Linked DNA regions of Homo sapiens: region 1 is linked to region 2. The links are contacts of gene promoters, found by promoter capture Hi-C in human tissues and cell types (Jung and others, 2019). All regions are on one chromosome and are shown on one strand. Each heading gives the region's core, a stretch centred on a gene start or on the middle of the fragment in contact. The rest is flanking DNA. Distances are from core to core; before and after follow the strand shown. Region 1 has its middle 15 kb from the start of SCGB1D2. Region 2 holds the start of SCGB1D1 (secretoglobin family 1D member 1).

Region 1 (6,192 bases), core at 216-2,715, 39 kb before region 2:
AGCACAATGGCATGATTTCAGCTCACTGCAGCCTCAACCTCCCTGGCTCAGGTGATCCTCTTGCTTCAGCCTTCTGAGTAGCTGAGACTACAGACATGCACCACCATGCCCAGCTAATTTTTGTACTTTTTGTAGAGATGGGGTTTGCCATGTTGTCCAGGCTGGTCTGGAACTCCTGGGCTCACACGATCCACTCACCTCAGCCTCCCAAAGTGCTGGTATTACAGGCATTGTTAATGGTGGAGGGTGTCCAGGTTCTTGGCATCTTGAATGAAGAATTGGACAAAACGCACAAATAAAGCAAGCAAGGAATGAAGGGATTTACTGAAAATGAAAGTATGTTCCACAGCGTGGGAGTGGGCCCGAGCATAGGGGCTCAAAGGCCCCACTACAGAATTTTTGGGAGTTTAAATACCTGCTAGAGGATTCCATTGGTTACTTGGGGTAAGCCCTATGTAAATGGAGAGGATGAAGTAAAATGACAAAGTCATTGAGTTGGCCTACGCCCTATGGAGAGGATATTTCCTCTCATAGCTGAAGTGTGAATTGGCCTTATGTTCTCTGCCTCCAGAACCTATTTTTCTGCATCATCTCCCCCGTGAGGGATGTGATCTCCATAAGTCTTTATGGGAGGCAGAGGGACTGATGGTCTTTTTTCTGTAACTGCTTCATGTTGACTTGGGGATCATGGAACTCTCACCCTGTTCTGTCTAGTGGAGGTGGAGTAGCTTCTTGATGGCATTGGGGCGGTGTCTTCACCTGGAATTGGCTGGAACCTTTGTTGCATGATTATCTGAAGCTTGAAGGTCTCTAGGCAAGAGGAAATGAATTTGGTTAAAAGATTTAATGGGAACTTCAGGGGGCAGATACCTCCGCTCTTAGAAATTTTCATTATAGAGATTTGCAAGAGAAAAAACAAAACCTGGTCTGTTCTAGAATCTATGTGTTTCCTTAAAGTCTTAGCACAAGCAACTCCATTTTGGTTTGGTTTGGTTTGTTGGGGCCTAGTGCATGACCTTAGTCCAAAACAATGACCGCCCTAGAATTTTGTTTTTAAAATTCCCCCTTTATGGACAAGTTCTCACTTAGGTGAGAGTGTGACACAAACTTAGGGGCTTAACGCCACTCTCAGTTACCATTATTTTGGGTTTCTGGTCTCAGCACATCATTTATAGGTTACAGGGTCCTCATGGTCGCACATTTCTTTTAGCCCCTGTTATTCCAGTTGAAGGGAGACCATATGACATTCTAGAGATGGCTGAGTAAAAGTATTTAAAACCTTTGAGAGAATACAGTGCACCAGAGAGACTACTGGGAGGATAATACCAAGAGTTTGCAGTATGCTCCTCACCCAAGGTCTCCATAAACCAAACCACTTCAAATTAAATAGATCAAATAATGAGCTAGATAAAGTTTACTCTCTTGACTAAGCAATTTCTTCATCAATCCCCTACCACTGAATTTCTCTAATCTTCATTTGATGTAATTCCCCATAGGCCAAAATTGCCAGCAGCTGCACAGGTACTTTTCTGGTTAGCTAATTCTATTATTTAGCATAACTTTCAGAAGAGAATTTAAAGTCTGTTGTGTAAGTGTGGCCTATACAGTAAAGTTTGCTATGGAACCTATCATGAGGGATACATTTCTAATCATTGTCTCTTTTACTTTAAACCACATAAAAAGGACCAAACAAATGATACCCTTCTGGAAGTGTGAAGGCCTCCTGGCAATGTTCTCTTTCAACCCATGATATGGGTTAAGAGGAGTGAACCAAGGTTTTGTTTTTGATGATTGTGAGGCAACGTGTGTACCATTAAAGTTTCTTACCTACCTTGGCCGTTCACCTTTTATCTATCAAAGTATAAGATTACCCAGGTATAAGGCTGGCTGCAAACTCCTTCACAAATAAGAGTATACCCCATAAGGGTGCATAACAGACCCCTTTTCCATTTCTATTGTTCATAGAGGCATAAGCAAGAAAAAAAATTCAAAGATAAGAGTTTCATGATAGTAGAAGTCTCGATCTGTGAACTTGGGAAAAGCTGTTCACATCAAGGATGTCATCTTCTTCTTGGGAGAAGTTTCCGTGGTTAGCTTTTCCTCAAGGGTTCCAATGAATGCACAGTTCCAAAAGCGGGGAGGGACCCCTTCTCAGTTGTGAGACCATGAACCCGAATCCCAAGGCCCCAAAATTTTGTTGTAGTGTGGATGGCAAGGATAGTCTTTTTCTGACGTTTCCAGGAGATTCAAACCATAAAAAGCTTTCTTTACCTGGTGAAAATACACTGTAGCATAATAATCTACTGTTATAACATCATCCCTCTTGCATGGGAAAGCTTTTATACAACCAGAAAACATGCACTGAAAATTAAAATGGGATGAAATCCCTTTATAAAATGTTTAAGTTGCCCACCAGGCGACCAAATGTACCTGAAGCTTTAATTGTTTTCCCAGGAATATGGGATCAAGCATCGGTTATAAATTATTTTAGTAATTTGTAAGCCACTTTACCAATGTATTCAATTGGGATCATTATATCTTTTCCACGATGAGTCATGGAATGCAGAAGTTTTAATAATAAAAGCTTTAAGGACTCAGGAAGGACAAGATGGCCATCCTGTTTCTCCATGAGTCCATGTTTAGTTAACATTAGACTTATATCCTCTTGGATACCAGTTGTTTATCCAAATTAGGCACATAACACTGGCAAGAAAATTTCATTATTTTTGTGGTTTACAATAACTTAACATAATAACCATAATTATAATTGATAGCATATACTTAGACATTAGAATTTTAGAAATCCCATACAATTTAGGAATATATATTAGTATTATTCACAAAAATATAACCTAAAGAAGATTGAACATCATTTTGGCCCATGTACCTAAACACATCAAATAATCCTGTTTACCTCTTTTCAAGATGTTTTCAGGGGCCCTCTGATTCATCTAGAAAGCCAGGAATTAGGAAAGACAATTTTGAAACTGAAGTTTGATTTTGGAATTCCAGATTACCATAAATTATTTATTTTGCCAAAATGATGACTCAGAAATCTTAAAGATGTAAAAACCTTTTATAGCCTCTTACAAGGAAAAAAAAACACATTCTACTTACATATCTTGCATGTAAAACTGTTTCTAGTGGTCTTAATTTCATGTTGTAATGAAGAATTTTAAGGTAAAACCTGGTAAATTACATTCTGATAAGTTTTGACTATTTGCAGCATAGCTAGGGTGTGGCCAATTCCACATGTTCCCAGACCTTACCTAGCTGGAAAGCAGGTAAGTTAAACAATTTTCAAAAGCCAAAGAAACAGTTTATGACCTTACAGCATTTAGCAAACCTAATATTTGAACATAATTTAGACTACATGTTTACATTTTGAAGACATTTGTATTTTACCCATAATCTTTTTCTTTTTTTCTTTCTTTCTTTTTTTTTTTTTTTTGAGATGGAGTCTTGCTCTGTTGCCAGGCTGGAGTGCAGTAGTGCAATCTTGGCTCACTGCAACCTCCACCTCCCAGGTTCAAGCGATTCTCCTGCCTCAGCCTCCCGAGTAGCTGGGACTACAGGCATGCGCCACCATGCCTAGCTAATTTTTGTATTTTTAGTAGAGATGGGGTTTCAGCATGTTGGCAAGGATGGTCTCGATCTCTTGACCTCGTGATCTGCCCACCTCAGCCTCCCAAAGTGCTGGCATTACAGGCGTGACCCACCACTCCCAGCCACCCATAATCTTGAAAAACATCTTTATTTCTCAAAGATTGCTAAAGTCACATGAACTAAAAGGCATTACACCTTCTACTTTTCTGACAAAATATTTAATTTAAGGTTTTATTATTATTAAACCAACTAATTTAAAACTTCACAGAGGAGATTAACCAGTTTGCACAGAGAGAAAGAGGCCAGAGACTGCCTGGTAAGAAATTCTTACCCTTTGGCTGGCATGCCAGGTTTCTGGGTTCTCTCTCCCTGAGCGGCCCTGGCAGCCCTGCTTGACTGTATGCAAACAAACACATTGCCATGAATTAAAAATATTCATAGACAGTTTACAAATTTTGGAGAAACTAGGCAGAGAGAGAAATATGACTTAAATTCTATTTGTAAGTGTATACTCAACACACTTAAAGTATCAGGAAGCCTAAAATCCAAAAAGTTAGTTTAAGGATGAAAAGCTGGTGTGCTCCAGTAATTCCTGCACCCCAAAAAAGGTTGCTTAGGAATTCCAGATAAATGGAATGAATGATGCCTTGCTAGAAATGCATAGGAAACAAAATAACTATTGACAGAACCAAATAAAAGCCTTCCACTGGAAACTAAAAAGCCTCACGGTTTTATATACATGCAGACACAAGCAAAACCAGAGAAGAATAAAAAGCAAATGAATGAAAATAGAAGCCAAAACAAATAAACAGGAAACCAACCCTAAATTTTCCTACTTAATTTACTCTAGAGGCTACAGTGTTACCTAGGGCCCCCAAAAAACCAACATAATGAATACTTTCTTTCTTTCTTCTTCTTTTTTTTTTTTTTTTTTTTGAGACAGGGTCTTACACCGTCACGCAGGCTGGAGTGCAATGGCACAATCTCGGCTCACTGCAACCTCCACCTCCACCTCCCAGGTTCAAGTGATTCTCCTGCCTCAGCCTCCCCCGTAGCTGGGATTACAGGTGCCCACCACCACACCTGGCTAATTTTTTGTATTGTTAGTAGAGACAGGGTTTCACTATGTTGACCAGCCTGATCCTTGAACTCCTGACCTCGTGATCCACCCACCTCGGCCTCCTAAAGTGCTGGGATTACAGGTGTGAGCCACCATGCCCAGCCTTGAATATTTTATTTCTGATATACAATTCAATATCTTAAGTTCACCAATATTATCATACATTCTGAGCAATCAAGAAATCCACTTTTAGCACATGGCCAATAAGTACTCCAACACTATCCATGCAAAACAGTAGACATAGTGTGAAGCAATGCAAGCATGTATGTGAAATTTGGCTCCACACTAAGTCCAGCTTCATGTTTAACTATATCAAAAAGAGAATTGCCAAACTGCTGATGCATTTTTGCAATACTTTTTATTTAACTTTAATTAAGACTAAGAGCTTTACTTATGAAAATGTTAATTAGCAAAATGTCTCCAATTCCCTATCAGGATTTGGAGAATGTTTTATTATTTAAACTTTTTTCACATCTTTCTCCTCTACTTAATGATTTCTCACTACATTGTTTCATAAATAACCTTTTCAGTCTGTAATTTGAACTAACTTTTAGATAATTTCTGAATTGCACAAAATTACTCTTTTTTCCACTAATAACATAACCCTTTCTGGGCACATTTTGTATACACAATTACATGTTAACTAAAATGTTTATCCTTAGTAACCTAAAACTTTAGTGAAACCCTAAAAAGCAAGAAATCCTGAACTATCAGATATGGACATTTATAGATAAGAATAATTCCACAACTTTAGAAACATATTTTCCCTATCACAACGCTTTCCTAATTGGAAAGACCCAGATATTAAATGAGCATCAAAAATAACTTTAAGATTTTAATTTACACAAAAAGTTTACCTAAAAAATTTATCCCAATCATTGTACTTAAATTTTACTTTTAACAAGAGAGACAGGAGATATCAATCAACATAGGTAAAATACATTGGTTTGGTCCAGAAAGGCAGGACAACTTGAGGCAGAGAAGGGGATTGGGGCCTTTCAGATCACAGGTGTGAGACAAATGGTTGCATTCTTTTGAGTTTCTGATCAGACTTTCCAAAGGAAGCAATCAGATATGCATTTATCTCAGTGAGACTTTGAATAGAATAGGAGGCAGGCTCTCCCCAAGCAGCTCCTAGCTTGAATTAACATTGACATTTTAAAATATCTAGCCAAGACAAACATAAAATTTAGACAGAATGTATGCTGACAACCCTGAAGGCATTTCTATTTTTATTCCACCAATAATTTTAAAGCTAGCTTGTTTAGTAAAGTCATACTTAGGTCATGTGAGCTTGAAAATTACTTAGACTTATTTACTTAATTTATGATGCCCTTATAAGCCAATTGGTAGACACAACATGTAACAATAAGTGTACATACAAATAAACACATCTGGACATGTATACACACACATAAATGAAGATTCAGTAGCTTGGAACCTTAGCCATGAGATAGCAATACAAG
Region 2 (6,734 bases), core at 93-2,592:
GTAGAATTTAGGCTTATGTGATTCAATACAGACAGAGCTAAAAGGTAAACAAATTAAAACAAAATAAAATAATGTGAATCAGTTTTAACACACATTAGAAGCTTATACAGGAAATTGTACTTGGCCCATATTCTGCAGCAGCATCTAGAATATTTGGAGAGGATGAGAGGAGGGAACTGAGGCTCATTCCTGCTCCCACTGGGAATTTTGGAAAGACCTGGAGTAATCATTTTGCTTGGTCTGGAATCTCCATTCACCTAAGTCTTTTGCAAACACCATGCATCCAGAAAGCGCCCCACCATGCTCAACATGACCCCTGACTACCCGACTTCAAACTGTGGGGAGAATTTGGAGAGGGTAGGATCGGGGTGTCACAGGGAAACAGGGAGAGGTTCAGAAAAGAAGAGGAAAGAGAAAAATCAGAGTCTGGATCGGTCCTGACAGGGGAAAGGAAAGTACCCAAATGAACTGGGGAAAAATCAGCCAGAATTAATTTTAGAAAAATAGAAGTTCTGAGGCTAACCATTGTAGTATTTCTACCACCATTACGGTAGGACCCCTAGAAGATATATTGAGTGCTGCTTATTCTAAGAATTCATTTGCAGGCTTCTTATTGAGAGAATCAGAAAGCACCATCTCTTCTTGGACTGAGAGTTCTCCAAGGATCCTTCGAGATGTAACATTTTATGAGTCTGAATTTACAATGTAAGAAGCTGTGAGCTCAATTGGCACCTAAAGGTCTGGGGACGAGAATGTCTGACAGTACAGTGATTGGCTTCACATCCACAGCTAGACCCTTGGCACAATAATCCCACTCCATTCCCATTGCCACTCCCGGAAGAAGCTCTAAGCACCAGAGATAGGAGGAGGCGCGGGGAGGGTGAGCATCTTGCCCACGGTGAAAGGGCTGAGAAGTGGCTGAGCCCAGAGTCACCCCAGACCTCACATTACATCATCTGACACAGATCCCATCCAAGAGTGAAGCTCAGGCAGAATTCCTAACGTTCGCCTGCATTGATTTTCTGCAAAACTTCCTAGGTACTGGGGATTTGATGAAATGAGGCCCGAGCTTTATGAGCAGTTCCTTCAACAAGCACAGGATAAGGTTTGGAATTTTGGTTTGTTCCAGACCCCAACCTTAACCTTAATAGGTGACCTCGTGCTCAGAGAAGGGTGTGTCCCAAGGGCTGGTGCTGGACTCATGACTGATGTACTCACCCCGGTAGCAGCAAAGGGCCAGCGTGAGCAGCAGGAGACACACCGACAGCCTCATGGTGGCTTATTCTGCTGTGAGCTCGGCTTTAACCAATGATGAGTGATTTAGACTCAGCCCCGGGAGCCTGTGGAGCCGTGGAGCCCAGGGCTATTTGTACCTAGGGAGCCTGGCTGGTCCTGCCCACATGGGCATCTGGCAGGTGATGAGGCCTGGCTTCCAGCCCTCCCTTCCTAGCCAGGGCTGCTGCCATCCATCAGTGTCACATCCCCACACCTCCCTGCATCCTGAGTGGGGCGGAGCACGGGAGGGCAGCCCTGCAGAAACTCTGCTCTGTGCTCCAGGTGAGTGTCCAGGTGCCTCTGGCAATGTTCCCTGGAACCTCAGTTTGCTTTTGGGCTTTTGAGGATTATCTCTCTGTTCTTTATGTCAGTGCAAGGGCAAATGTGAGTTCTCATTTCAGGAGGACAGAAACCGGGGGTGCAGGAAGCTAGGGGCTGTGGTTTGGTTATAGGAGAGCAGGCACAGAAGAGACCCCACTTTGACCTCCACTGCATGTCTGACAATCAGCCACACGTGTTTCAGCTGCACATAGATCAAGTCTGAACCAGACCTATCCTCCCACTCAGCCCCTTCCATCCCCACCATCTTCACCACATAGGTACCTAAAACATAGCTGCATACACCCCACCTTTGGAGGATTTCCTTGGGGAAAACAACCACTCCCCCTGTCCTCTACTCTGTCTCACTCCAAGATCTGTGTCTTTATTTATGGGTGGAGTTGTCAACATAGCACAGGTTCAAATTTTCTGTCTACTAAAAGCAAGCCTCCAGTGACCTCTAGCCACCCATATCTCCTCATAGGGCTGATGGGATGATTAAATTGCCCAACTTTTTTTACCCAAGGAGCTGCTGGGGTGTCTGGAGGCAAACAGGCATCAGAAATACTGGTCTTCGCTTCTAGGCAGGGACGATAATGGAAAGGAAGAGATGGATGAACAGGGTGGGTGGTCACTTCCCTCTAACCTCTGGGCTCAAGTTTTCCACTTCTAACCCAGCTCTGCTGCCTGGGTCATCTCATTGTTGATGGAAAGCGAAGGCCATCCCCAGCAAAAGCAATAGACACCCTTCTGCCCTTCCACTGCAGTGCCATCATTTGGTGAGTAGGAAATCACCAGAAATTTGGCTCTTAAGTGAACACACATTTGAGAACAGTCACAGCCCAGGCCAGAGCTTTCCATTCTCTGCTCTGCAATCAAATCACTTGGGGCTCTTAAACTATACTGACTCCCCGCAGGCTGCTTCCCTTTCTGGGGATTTTGATTCAGTAGTTCTAGGGCGAGGTCCTCTTCTGTTTAAACTGCTCTGGTGGGTCTGATGGGCAGCAGTACTGAGAACCACCCAGAAAGACCTTTATGAAGGAAGCGGACCTTATGGTCTGTGTCATCAGAGACACCTTGGCAGGTCTGGCTGAGTCCCAGCTGAGGGCGACAATGCCTCTCACTTCCATCACCCAAAATGGTGGGGAAGCCCCTGATGCCACCTCTGCCTCCAACCCTAAGGAGTGGAAGGTCCAGTGGCAAAGCCCATGGCTAGGAGGGTTCAGATCCATGTCTATGGGCTATTGAACCCTCTGAAAATTAGTTTATGTAAACACAGTTTTCTCGTTTGTAAAAGTAGGTTAAAAATGGTGCCTACATCATTGGGTTGATAGATGTTCAAATGAGTGTGTGTGTGTGTGTGTGTGTGTAAAATTTACCAGGTCTGGCCAGGCGCAGTGGCTCACACTTATAATCCCAGCACTTTGGGAGGCCGAGGCGGGTGGATCACCTGAGGTCAGGAGGTTGAGACCAGTCTGGCCAACATGGTGAAACCCCGTCTCTACTAAAAATACAAAAAATTAGCTGGGTGTGGTGGCATGTGCCTATAGTCCCAGCTACTCAGGAGACTGAGGCAGGAGAATCTCTTGAACAAGGGAGGCAGAGTTGTGGTGAGCTGAGATGGCACCACTGCACTCCAGCCTGGGCAACAAGAGCAAAACTCCATCTCAAAAAAGAAAAAAAAATTAACAAGGTCTGACATGTAGTAAACGCTCAATAAATGTTGACTACTATTACCTTGTCCCACCTGTCATACATTTCATGGATCATTACCAGTTCCTAGTTTAAAGCACAGCCAACCCCTCAAAAAAAAAAATCACTGATTTTCAGAACTACAATTCATGGGCCACATAAGGACATATTAGTTAATATCAGACCCCACATACAACAGGGGTCCCCTAAAATTATAATACTGTGTTTTTACTGCACCTTTTCTGTTTTGATATGTTTAGATACACAAATACTTGTCATTGTATTACAACTGCCTACAGTGTTCAGAACAGTAATATGCTGTACAGGTTTGTGGTCCAGGAGCAACAGGCTTACCTATTAATAGCTGAGGTGTGCAGTAGGCTATGCCATCTAGGTTTGTATAACTGCATTTTATGATGTTCACACAATGACAATTGCCTATGCATTTCTCAGAATGTGTCCCAGTCACTAAGTGACACACAACTGTCTAAGGAAACCTGGATACACCCCCACTATCTGAAATAAATGGAGGAAACCCAGCTCATGGTCTCTGAGACTGCAGACCCAGGGACACGAATTTAGGTTCTTACAGATGACAGATGGGTGAGGAATTTTCCATAGCTGTTGAACAGAGCTTTCCTGATGTGGGCTTGGCCTTCATCTGTATATTCCATTAGGAAGGATGTGTATATCTGAAAGAGGATTGCTTCCCACATATTTTTATCATTCCTGTAGCTCTTAACATCTGCTCGGGGCTTTTTCTAGTTTTCATAGGTGGTACTTTTGATGACTGCTCTACTCCTTCCCTGGTTGGCTTAAGATCTTCTCATTTTGGCCGGGCATGGTGGCTCACACCTGTAATCCCAGCGCTTTGGGAGGCCAAGGCAGGTGGATCATTTGAGGCCAGGAGTTCGAGACCAGCCTGGGCAACATACAAGACCTTGTCTCTATAAACAATTTTAAAAATTAGCCAGGCATGGTGGTGGGTGCCTGTATTCACAGCCACTAAAGAGGTTGAGGTGGGAGGATTGCATGAGCCCAGGAGTTTCAGGCTACAGTGAGCCCTGATTATGCCACTGCACTCCAGCCTGGGCAACAGAGCAAGAATTTGTCTCTAAAAACATGAAATAAAATAAAATAAACGTTTTTAATGCAAAAAAAAGTATGTGAAGTGATGGATTTGTTAATTAATTTGATTGTATTTGATGTGTGTATTGTAAACATACATCAAAACATTATATTGTATGCCATAAAAATATACAAGTTTAGGTCAGGCTCAGTGGCTCGTGCCTATAATCACAGCACTTTGGGAGACTGAGGTGGGCAGATTACCTGAGGTCAGGAGTTTGAGACCAGCCTGACCAACATAGCAAAACCTTGTCTCTACTAAAAATACAAAAATTAACTAGGTTTGGTGCTGGGTGTCTGTAATCCCAGCTGCTTGGGAGGCTGAGGCAAGAGAATGGCTTGAACCTGGGAGGCGGAGGTTGCAGTGAGCCAAGATCATACCACTGCACTCCAGCCTGGATGACAGAATGAGACTCTGTCTCAAAAAAAAAATTAAAGAAAAATATATATATACAATTATTATTTGTCTATTTAAATTAAAAAAATTGTATGGAGAGAAACATGATGTTAACAATATTCTCTTCAAACAAAGGGCAAAATTCATATAAAAGATAAATCCATGAACATAAATTGGTCATTATTTATAGATAGTTATTCAACTATCAGGGAAATTTAAGACAATCCACTAGAAAAACTGTCAATATTGATTTGCCACCACAGCTGCCAGCATGCATTCACATGAGCACAGATCCTGCTGCCACTGCTCTGATGAAGTGCTTTGGCAGGGTGTTGTTGCCAGCAGACTGGGAACACCTCCACCTCACCAGCACAGCGGGTGCTTAACCTCAAGGGGCCGGAGAACAAAGCAATGGGCCTGGTACCAGGCCTCCAGGGTTAGAGCAAGCAGCCCAGGAGTGCTGAACTGAACTGAACCTTGGCCTTCTGAAATCTTCCAGAAACAAAGCCCAGTCAACTGAACCCAACTGATACCACAGTCAAACCCTCAAGGGCATCAAAGAATGCAAAAGAAAAAAACCGGGCCGGGTGCAGTGGCTCACACCTGTAATCCCAGCATTTTCGGAGGCCGAGGCAGGCGGATCATGAGGTCAAGAGATCAAGACCATCCTGGCTAACATGGTGAAACTTCGTCTCTAATAAAAATACAAAAATTAGCTGGGCGCGGTGGTGCATGCCTGTAGTCCCAGTTACTTTGGAGGCTGAGGCCCATCCAAGGGACAGCAACTTCAAAGATTAAAAGAACATCAGTCCACTCAGATGAGAAAGAATCAGCACAAAAACTCTGGCAACTCAAAAAGCCAGAGTGTCGTCTTACCTCCAAATGACCACACTAGTTCCCCAGCAATGGTTCTTAATCAGCTCTGTGGGAAAGAGAGTTTCTGGGATGCCAGATGAGTTGGTCTCCCCTGTGTGAGACACCCATGGGAAGCCATGGGTGGCCTTTGAGGAGAAAAGTCTCCTTATTGCCTTCATGTCTTTTTGCCCCTAAAGCATAACAGCTCAGCGGCATTCCAGAGGTTGCTTGGGGAGATAACACTCCCTTGAAGCAGTGGAGTATAATCAAACATCTTGGCTCCCCCTGAAACCCACTCCCACCCATTTCATTCCGGATAAGTTAAAGATCTTAAGTAGTTTAGACACACGCCTTTGCTCAAGGAAATTCACAGAAACCGCCACTGCTATACATCTTATTGAACGACGCACGAATTCTCCTTCGTTGATTAATCCTTTTCCTCATCCCTTCCTACCCTTCCCATCTGCCCTAAGAACAAAGAACTTGTAAACCAATAAATTAGGTGGAGCCGAAGAGCTCTGGGCCCTGAGCAAGCCTCTGACGCTCCGGTCCCTTGGACCTGCCTTTTAAAATTTTATTCTGTCTCTTTCTAACTCCTTTGTCTCGGCTGGACTCGGGGTACCCGCCAGGTGGTGTGGGGCTGGTTTCCCCAACAAGCTCAAATGGCTGAAACGACAGACACAGAATTCACAATCTGAATAGGAACGAAGATCAATGACATTCAGGAGAAGGCCAAAACCCAATTCAAGGAATCTAAGGAATCCAATAAAATGAGACAAGAGCTGAAAGAGAAAATAGTCGTTTTAAGAAAGAACCAAACTGATCTGATAGAGCTGAAAAACTCACTACAAAAAATTGTGTAATACAATCGGAAGTATTAACAACAGAATACACCAAGCTGAGGAAAGAATCTCAGAGCTCAAAGAACGATTCTTCAAATCAACTCAGTCAGACAAAAATAAAGAAAAAGGAATAAAAAAGAATGAACAAAACCTCTAAGAAATATGGGATTATGTAAAAAGACCAAACGCACAGCTCACTGGCATCCCTGAAAGAAAAGGGGAGAGAG

What was found. The method cuts DNA at HindIII sites, captures the fragments that hold promoters and counts their contacts. A contact is called where the count stands out against the background at its distance.
Region 1: a fragment that was not itself captured here is called in contact with the fragment with the promoter of SCGB1D1 in region 2 in 1 of the 25 tissues and cell types used here (H1 embryonic stem cells).

The regions. Positions count from the first base shown.
Region 1 is chr11:62,224,355-62,230,546 of GRCh38, reverse strand. No RefSeq gene overlaps it. Among named protein-coding and RNA genes, the nearest start is that of SCGB1D2, 15 kb to the left of the region's middle. The HindIII fragment of the contact is 5,846 bases long and covers 1-4,388 here.
Region 2 is chr11:62,184,824-62,191,557 of GRCh38, reverse strand. It overlaps SCGB1D1 (secretoglobin family 1D member 1), which reads right to left and starts at 1,342. Exons shown (of 3, transcript NM_006552.2): 1 at 1,219-1,342. The coding sequence starts at 1,273. The HindIII fragment of the contact is 12,490 bases long and covers 1-6,734 here.